2 separate regions of the Homo sapiens genome follow, and region 2 is linked to region 1. The links are contacts of gene promoters, found by promoter capture Hi-C in blood cells and fetal thymus (Javierre and others, 2016). All regions are on one chromosome and are shown on one strand. Each heading gives the region's core, a stretch centred on a gene start or on the middle of the fragment in contact. The rest is flanking DNA. Distances are from core to core; before and after follow the strand shown.

Evidence for each region. The method cuts DNA at HindIII sites, captures the fragments that hold promoters and counts their contacts. A CHiCAGO score of 5 or more calls a contact.
Region 2: a fragment that was not itself captured here is called in contact with the fragment with the promoter of CACNA1I in region 1 in 1 of 17 cell types (naive CD8 T cells); the score reaches 5.3 in naive CD8 T cells.

The regions. Positions count from the first base shown.
Region 1 is chr22:39,568,368-39,573,198 of GRCh38, forward strand. CACNA1I (calcium voltage-gated channel subunit alpha1 I) reads left to right here and starts at 2,386. Exons shown (of 37, transcript NM_021096.4): 1 at 2,386-2,621. The coding sequence starts at 2,386. The HindIII fragment of the contact is 9,228 bases long and covers 1-3,300 here.
Region 2 is chr22:39,859,176-39,864,006 of GRCh38, forward strand. ENTHD1 (ENTH domain containing 1) reads right to left here. Exons shown (of 7, transcript NM_152512.4): 3 at 2,590-2,832. Among named protein-coding and RNA genes, the nearest start is that of ENTHD1, 32 kb to the right of the region's middle. The HindIII fragment of the contact is 1,163 bases long and covers 1,456-2,618 here.

The DNA.
Region 1 (4,831 bases), core at 1,136-3,635:
GAGAAATTAATTGATCGGTGTGTCTCTCTCCTCTGCGGAAGTGTGGGCTGAATGGGGGCTGGTGCTGAGTCTGGCTCGTGCCCCAGCATAGCCCGAAGCCCACACAGTGCCCACACATAGTAGGTGCTCATTGGGCAAATGAATGAATCAGTAGGGCCTGGGAGAACAGGGCCTGGGCGGAAGGAGAAGGTGCCCCAGTGAGAGGGAAGAGCGGGAGCAGGGCCTAGGACCTGAGGAGGTCCAATCTGGCCAGAGCAAATGGCCAGGGGAGGGAGTGGTGGGCTCCGAGGCTGGCACGGTGGTGGGCAGAGCTGGAACCACCCTAGGGAGGGTGCGTTTCAGCCCAGGAGGTTGACACGTGGCAGGCCAAGGTGCCTGGGAGCTTATGTAAGGCCCGTGGCTGTTTTTCTGGAATCAAGAGCAAAGCCCTGAGCTCAGGAGAAAACTCCGCCTCCCTGACCAGCCAGGGGAAGTGGCAGGAGGTGCCAACCCCTGCCCGTTGCCCCCGGGAGCCAGAGAAATGTCCAAATGCATCAGCTCCGGGTGGCTTGGTCGACAGCCCAGCAGCAGCTGGGTGGGCACCAGGGACGTGGACCCCATCTCTCAATCCCACGGCTCAGACTGGCCCTGTAGGGGTTCTAGGATCCCAGGGACCCCAGTGGACAAAGTTTTAGGGACTAGTACCCTTTGGGGTGAGGTGGTGAGGGGCAGGCCCTGGGAGTGGCTGTCCGTCCCATCTTGCCATTGACTGGTTGCGGAGGCTCTCGGCCAGCGAGGGCACCATCAGTTGTCATGAAGCCCGCCTGGGGGTCTGGTGCTGGGATTCTGGCCTCTCAACACCACCTAGTGCTTCACTTGGCTGGGTGCATAGCCTTGACAACCCGCTTTGTTCTCTTGGCCTCAGTTTCTTCACCTGCCAAATGGGCATAATAGTCCTCCTGAGGTTGTTGTGAGCATCAGACAAGGCCAGGGAGTAGAAGTGCTTTGAGTTGGAGTCGGAGCCAGCAAGATGATTTGCATCACCTAGAACAAAATGAAAATGTGGGACCTCTTGATAAGCAATTAAGAATTTCATGTTGGTGACAGAAGAATTCTAAAGCAAGTTCAGGGCCCTTCTGAGCACGGGGCCCTGTGCAGCTGCCTGAGCCACAGACCCAGGAAGCGGGCTCTGACCGGAATTCTTTTTTTTTTTTTTTTTTGGTGACAGAGTCTTGCTCTGTTGCCCAGGCTGGAATGCAGTGGTGTGATCTTGGCTCACTGCAACCTCCACCTCCCGGGTTCAAGTGATTCTCATGCCTCAGCTTCCCGAGTAGCTGAGATTACAGCGTGTGCCACCACACCCAGCTAATTTTTGTATTTTTAGTACAGATGAGGTCTCACTATGTTGGCCAGGTTGGCCTCAAACTCCTGACCTCAGGTGATCCACCCACCTTGGCCTCCCAAAGTGCTGGGATTACAGGTGTGAGTCACGTGCCTGGCCTTTGACTGGAATTCTATTTCTGCTGTTACTCTGCTACATGTCTGTCCTGTCCCTTCTCTGGGCCTCGGTTTCTTCATCTGTAAGGCAAGGAGGTTAGACTCTAAGATTCCTGGGTTCTCAGCCTTGTAAGGCAGTGGCTGGGAGGTCCCTGGGTCAAGGGCTCAGCTGTAGGTCTCAGCTCAGGGGTTACTTCCTCAGGGAAGCCAACTGTGATTCCCTCCTGGCTTGCCAGCGTTCCCCCAGTCTCTGATTCTGCAGCACCCCAACATTGCCTTTGTAACCTGCATTGTCCTGGCAATAATGTCTGTCTTTACAATCACCTCTTTTTTCTTGCAAGTTTTCTTTACCTTTGATGGTGCAATAAATACATAGCTCTAGTCTTGTAAAAAAGTTAAGATCCCTTCCTTCCTTCCTTCCTTCCTTCCTTCCTTCCTTCCTTTCTTCCCTCCCTCCCTCCCTCTCTCCCTCTCTCCCTCCCTTCCGTCTTTCTTTTCTGTCTATAATTACTTAAACATTTTTTCTCTTAAATAATGAAAGATTTCAAATACAGAAAATTGCCAATAGACAAAAAAAAAAGAGTTAATATCACAATTATATTCTAAGAAGGCTTTATTCTCCCCACTATCTTCGTTTGCCAAAACTGAGGCTCAGCCAGGGTGAGCAGACTTGCCCCATGATCACCCAGCTTGGAAGCAGATTCCAAGTTGGGTGCAGCTGGGCCCTCAGCTGTTTCGTAATCCTCATGCAAGAGTGAGGGTGAGGGGCCTGTGGGGCTCAGGTGGGGCTGTCAGAGCTGCATCCGTCCACTTATTGGTGGAGAGGCAGGTTGGGGAGCATGTACCAGGCCTGTCCCCACCACGTGCCACCCTCTCTGTCTTCCCCAGGGCTCCCAGCTCAGTGTGGACATGGCTGAGAGCGCCTCCCCGCCCTCCTCATCTGCAGCAGCCCCAGCCGCTGAGCCAGGAGTCACCACGGAGCAGCCCGGACCCCGGAGCCCCCCATCCTCCCCGCCAGGCCTGGAGGAGCCTCTGGATGGAGCTGATCCTCATGTCCCACACCCAGACCTGGCGCCTATTGCCTTCTTCTGCCTGCGACAGACCACCAGCCCCCGGAACTGGTGCATCAAGATGGTGTGCAACCCATATCCTCCGCAGCCTCGGCTGATCGGGGCCCTGCAGGGGCTGAAGGGTGGGGGGCTGGATTGAGTCCTGCTGCTCACACCTTGCTCCGGCTGGGAGACCTGAGGTCTGCGGTGAGGCCACTGGGCCTTGGTGGTGGTGAGCGAGCTCAGAGGGTGGGTCTGGGGAGACCTCAAATGGATGAGGACCTGGTGTTCTGCTGATGTGAAGGTTCTGGAAGTTGCTGGTGGCTGTGGGGTCAGTCCAGTGGCTGGCTGGCTCAGAAAGTCCTTGAGTGTGGGCCCCAGACCTGTGCTGGGCTGGGAATGCAGATCAGTCAGACTCTGGAGCCACCTGATGGGCCGTGACCATACAGAGGATGGGAGCCGTGATCAGGAACTGTGGGCGTGGGCAGCGGGGCAGCCGATCCCAACACACAGGGCAGGACTCATTCTCCTTACTGTGCCTCCGAGCAGCCTCTTCCCAGGCCTCCTGCCTCCACTTGCTGCCTCCAGTGGGCTCATGTTCCCCCTGCTTAAGACTGTCATGATTTGCTATGGTCCTGGAGGTGCAGAGCAAAGTCCTAATCCAACCCATCAGGGCCTGTGTGTTCCACCCAGCCTCACTTCCCACCACTTGGCTTCCCCCCTGTGCTCTTCTGAGCCTCAGGGTCCTCTCACTGGCTCTTCCCCCTGTCTGAAAAGCTTTTCCCTTCCCCCTGGACCTGGCCAAATCCTTTGCTACATCCTTAAAATCCCAGCTTAAGCATCACCTCCTCAGGGAAGCCCTCTGGGATTCCTCCTCTGCTTCATATCTAACTGTCACATCTAACTGTGGAATTCTGAATCTAACATTTGCCTCCCCTGGGGTACTGTCAGATGACTGGGATGGGGACCCTAGCACCTGGCACAGTGCTTGGCACATCGTGGGTGCTCTGGCAGTGTTTGCTGGGTGTACATGGGCAATGCCAGAGCTGACTCCTCAATAAGGAAGAGCGTTGGTTGGGTAGAGAGGGTAGTGGGAGGCAGGAGGAGGGCATGGCAGGAGCGAAGCCTGGAGAAGGGAGGAGTTGCAGGCAGTGTTGGAGCCCTGAGGGGCAGAGAGGAGTGAGGTGAGGCTGCAGGTGTGGCGGGAGCCCTGCAGGGCCTTGGAGGCTGCATGAGGGATGGGACTGTGCTCCAAGGGCAGGATTTGAAGCAGGGTCTGGAGAGATCTGTGCTCTGGAAGGACTGTGTGGCACTGGCTTGCAGGGTGAAGTGGGGGCTGGGGACCACTGAGGAGGAGGCTTGGGGACCCAAGCCATGGTGGCCTTGTGGTTTGAGGGTCCCACCAAAAAATGCCCATATGTGGCTCGAGGTTCTGGTGCTTGTGGCCACACAGGGCAGGGTGCGGGGAGCTGGTGGGTCAGGTGCAGGCCTGAGTCCTGCCCTGGAATCCAGGGATGCCAGATGCAGGCTGGGATGTTGAGACTGGCTGCAGGACTGCCAGGCTTCCCTTCTGTAGGGGGCTGAGGTGATCGTGGGCCCTGGATCCCCCTAACTTTTGGAAACCAGCGGGTCTCTGCTGGAGTGGGATGCAGAACTGGGTGTTCCTTGCTGGGTGGGGGCTAAGAGCCTCCCTGCTCCTTCTGGGGGACGGCTCACAGCGTCTCAGGCTTGGTGAGAGGGTCTGCTCGGTAATTAGTTCACCCAGCACTCACTGACATCTGCCCTGGGACACTGAGGACAAAGAGGCAGAGCTGGTGTCTGTCCCAGGGAGTGCCCGGGGAAGAGGGAAGCAGGGACCACCCATTTGGCTAGTTTTTTTTTTTAGATGGAGTCTCGCTCTGTCACCCAGGCTGGAGTGCAGTGGCGCGATCTCGGCTCACTGCAACCTCCGCCTCCCAGGTTCAAGCAATTCTCCTGCCTCAGCCTCCCGAGTAGCTGGGACTACAGGCACCCACCGCCATGCCCTACTAATTTTTGTATTTTTAGTAGAGATGGGGTTTCACCATGTTGGTCAGGCTGGTCTCGAACTCCTGACTCGTGAACCGCCTGCCTCGGCCTCCCAAAGTGCTGGGATTACAGGTGTGAGCCACTGTGCCCAGCCTACGTGGCTAGTTTTAATACAAAGCACTGGGGAAACCTCAGGGGCTTGTGGCATGTGAACAGAGGAGTGCCAGGCCTGAGAAGGGGGCGGCCGCAGGAATTTTGGGCCTTTAGGAAGAGAAAGGCTGGTAGGAGGACCAGGGGGA
Region 2 (4,831 bases), core at 787-3,286, 290 kb after region 1:
TAAAGACAGTTAGAACCTTGCTCTGGATTAGGCTTTGGCTTAAGTGATAATGGGGCTAGTTGGATCTTCTATCCAGACCATGCAACCTTTCTCTATAACAGCAATAAAGCTGTTTCCCATTCTTATCATTCCCGTATTCATTGGAGCAGCACTTCTAATTTCCTTCCAGAACTTTTCCTTTACATTCATAACTTAGCTAACTGTTTGGCACAAGAGGCCTACCTTTCAGCCTGTTTCGGCTTTCAACATGCCTTTCTCACTAAGTTTAACCATTTCTAGCTTTTGAATTAAAGTGAGAAACCTGCGACTCTTCCTTACACTTGAACACTTAGAGGCCATTGTAGGGTTATTAATTGGCTTAATTTCAATATTGTTGACCCTCAGGGACTAGGGAGACCCAAGGAGAGAGAGAGAGATCGGGATCAGTGAAGCAGTCAGAACACACATGACATCTATCAGTAAGTTCACTGGTCTTCTACAGCCATGGTTTGTGGTACCCCAAAACAATTACAACAGTAACATCTAAGATCACTGATCATAGATCACCATGACACATATAATAATAAGGAAAAAGTTAAAAATATTGCAAGAACTACCAAAATGTGACACAGACACAAAGTATGCACATGCTATCAGAAAAATGGTGCCAATAAACTTCTTGGGTACAGGATTGCCACAAACCTTCAATTTGTAAAATATACGTTATCTGTGAAGTGTAATTAAGCAAAGTGCAATCGATCGAGGTATGCCTGTATGTGGGTTGCTCCCTCACTTCATTCAGGTCTGTTTGAAGATTCACTTCCTCCAAAAGGCCCTCTCTCATTACGTGACCTAAAATAAACCCACCCCTGTCACTCTGTTCCCTGACCCTGCTTTCCTTTTCTTTACAGGACTTGTTATTATCTGACATATTTTATGCTTGTGACAGAGACATCCCAGTCTCTACCACTAGAATGTTAGTTCCATGATAAAAGAAAACTTATTTTACTCACTCCTATAGTTCCAAATTTCTGCTGAATATCCAAATTTTAAATAAATTCAATAATTATGTGTTTACAATGAAAGAAGAAAGAACTGACAAAAGAAAGGAAGAAGGAAGAGTAAGAAAGGTAACATCGAAGAAGCAAAAGTGGGGAAGAAACTCTGGATGAGTCATAATTGGTTATTCTTCTCTGTTACTCTGTTTTTAGCATCAGTTTGATTTAAAGGCTCCCATGAGAAAATTTCAGAATGAGTGGCTGTCTCTTTCGGAGATTTATTTCAAAAGAATCAGATCCCCTAAAGATCCCACCACTTTTAGAAGCCGGTAGGTAGTATTTGCTACTATAATTACAATGGCTACCCTCTTATAATGTCTCTCTCCAATCCCAAGTGTGGATGTTCACTCTATGTCTCACTGGGTGAACGTTTGAAACTCTTGATTAAGACAGAAAAGTACCTGAATGATTTTTAGCAAGCTTAACTTGTGTTGGTATTACTAGTAACATTGTTACATTTTTGCACTTAACTGACAGTTGGAATTATCTATTTGTACTGAATACAAAGGGACAGTTCTCTAAGTCACATTTCACTAATGTTTTTGCTTCCTCAAGCTGTCCATTTCTCATACACAACTTATCAACAGGGTTTCTACTGGAGAAGTTAGAGCAAAATGACATTTTTTAAAGTTTTAGCAAATTTGGTAGAAAAGATGATAGCATTTTTCTACTCATGTCTATTATAACATTATAAATAAATCCCTCTGTTATAAAAGTTCAGTAGTCCATATTTAAAGTTTTAAGCAAAGGAAAGGGTAAAAGGTATTGTCCTAGAATAATTTTAGAGCACTTTTAGGATTCTGAAGCATACTTTAGAAAATTTCAATTACTTGATTTATGTTACAGGATCAAAGAGACCTCATACGCACATAACTAGACACCTAGTCTTAGAAAACTGTACTCCTTCACTTTCCAGTTAAGGATAAAAAACTTAAAATTGAATCACGATGCCAAATAGGGTAGTCACTAGTTTAATACCTTAAAAGCTCAAAAACATTTTATTTGAATCAAAGATAACTGCATTCAGAAAACAGTCATAAAACTGGGCTGGGCACAGTGGCTCACGCCTATAATCCCAGCACTTTCGGAGGCCAAGGCAGGAGGATCACTTGAGGTCATGAGTTCGAGACCAGCCTGGGCAACATGCTGAAACCCTGTCTCTACTAAAAATACAAAAATTAGCTGGGCATGGTGATGGGTGCCTGTAATCCCAGCTACTCAGGAGGCTGAGTCAGGAGAATTGCTTGAACCCAGGAGACAGAGGTTGCAGTGAGCTGAGATAGTGCCACTACACTCCAGCCTAGGAGACAGAGCAAGATTCCGTCTCAAAAATAAATAAATAAATAAATAAAGCAAACAAATAAACTTTAAAAAGGTCATAAAATCTTCTATTGAATATTCTTCGTTGTTGTTTTCTATAGTATGAAGCCTAATATGGTAATAGTAATACTAAATAATATTAATAATTTAGTACTAAAACATAATATTTTATATTTTTAAATCATTTTTAATGATACCTGTTGCATTTTAGGCCAATGTTCATTATACGTACTTTTATTATGTAACCTTCCAAACTTAGGAAGCTTATACTTCTTCTCTGAAGCAGAAATATCCGGTGTGGGGGCAGAAGTGCACGCTGTCAGTGAGTTACTTGAACCAAGTTGTCTTTTAGAAAACAATATAGAGTGGGAGGTACGCTGTCTAGTCCGACATGCCACTTCCCTCTCTTTACACAGCAATGGTTCATCCATCAGCAATGTGATGACTTGCTTAGATTTTTCCCGGATATAATAACCTGAAAAATACATTGACTCTGCTTAGAAAAGGAAATACTAGTTAAGGCTATAATTAATTTTTTTTCTACAGAAATTTTTTTAAAAATAAAAATCTCAGCAGTGAAAAAACCTGCAGCAAATAAAGAACTACTGATAAGTATATTCCTTTTCTTATACTTTAAAAGGTAAATAAGTCATTAATATATGATAAAATTATATACTGGCATTACATTTTTCACTTTAAATACATTATTGGATTTTCCTTTTAAAAGCAATATATGGCTGGGTGCGGTGGCTCATGGCTGTAATCTCAGCACTTTGGGAGGCTGAAGTGGGCAGATCACGAGGTCAGGAAATCAAGACCATCCTGGCCAATATGGTGAAACCTTGTCTCTACTAAAATACAAAAAACTAGCTGGGCATGGTGGCATGTGCCTGTAGTCCCAGCTACTCAGGAAGCTGAGACAGGGGAATCACTTGAACTCAAGAGGTAGAGGTTGCAGTGAGCTGAGATTGCACCACTGCACTCCAGCTTGGCAAGAGAGCGAGACTCTGTCTCAAAAAAAAAAAAAAAAAGAAAGAAAAAGCAATAATACTTTGCAATAATCAAACAATATAGGCATACAAAGAAGGGGTATGAATTAGATCTAGATATACTGACCTAGATGTATGACCAGGACACATGGTTAAAGATTTAGAGTAACATACACAATAGGATTTGAAGCTGTAACATATAGAGGAAAAGAAATCACCATATATGTACACGGAAGAGAGAAGCAGATAAAGAAATACATACAACTGTGGTTTGAATGTATCCCCTCCAAAATTCAAGTACTGCCAATGTGATAGCATTAAGAGGTGGAGCCTTTAAGAGGTGATTATGCCATGAGGTCACCTCCTTTGTGAACAGACTAAAGGTCCTTATAAAAGAGGCTTCCCACAGCATTTGTCTCTTGCTTGCCTTCCACCATCGCCTTTCGGACCTTCTGTCACATGAGGACACAGCATTCCTCCCTTCCAGAGGATGCAGCATCAAGGCGCCATCTTGGAAGCAGACAGCAGCCCTCACTAGACAACTGAACCTGCCAGTGCCCTGAACCTGGACTCTCCAGCCTCCAGAACCATGAGAAAATAAATTTCTCTTCTTTCTAAATTACCCAGTCTGTGATACTCTGTTATAGCAGCACAAGCAGACTAAGACAGATAGACAGACAGGCAAGAATATAGGAAGGCAGGCAGGCAGGCAAACAGATGGCATACTCAGAATATTGTTAACATCTGTTACCTTACAGGGGTACAGTTGGGGTGGGACAAGAAAAGGGAGAGCAATTGGCTTTTCTCTGACGTAACATCCTATCAAAACAATTTGCTGCTTTTTAACAGAGTGACAGAGCACAGTCAAAGACAAGAATTCTAGTGAGAGTGATAGCTCTGTCCTTAACCATCTGTGTGACTTTCAGTCAGTCAGGTGGTCTATCTGGGCCTGAGTCTTCTATCTGAAAAGCAGCACAAGCAGTATCTGTATGGTTGAATTCCCAGATACAAAGGTACACTGTAACCTATAACTCACTCGAATATAAGGTATTACTATTTTTTCAACCTTCTTCCTAGAAAAACGATAAAGGAAATCACTTACCTTTCTCCATCTTGGGATGAACTCACAAACATGGCTTCCCAAGCCACCTTTCAAAAATAAACTGAAAAGTCCCTAATGATCCACTTGTATGTTCATTTTGGGCTCTAGGTGTGATGAATTAAAGTATTAATGTTTTCTAACTATAATTTACTAGCAGTGGAAGTGATGAGAAATGGTCAAATTTGGGGTATATTTAGATGACAGTGGCCAACGATGTTCTCTCACTGCGGGTCACTTCATTAAGGACTGGTGTGGACAGTGTCAGCAACCTTTGCTCAAGTTGCCATCTTTTCCAAGATTATTTTATCTAATCTCACTTCTTAGTTATTTCTTCCTTCCAAATCTACTTTATAACTGCTTCAAATCATATCATTCTAAACACT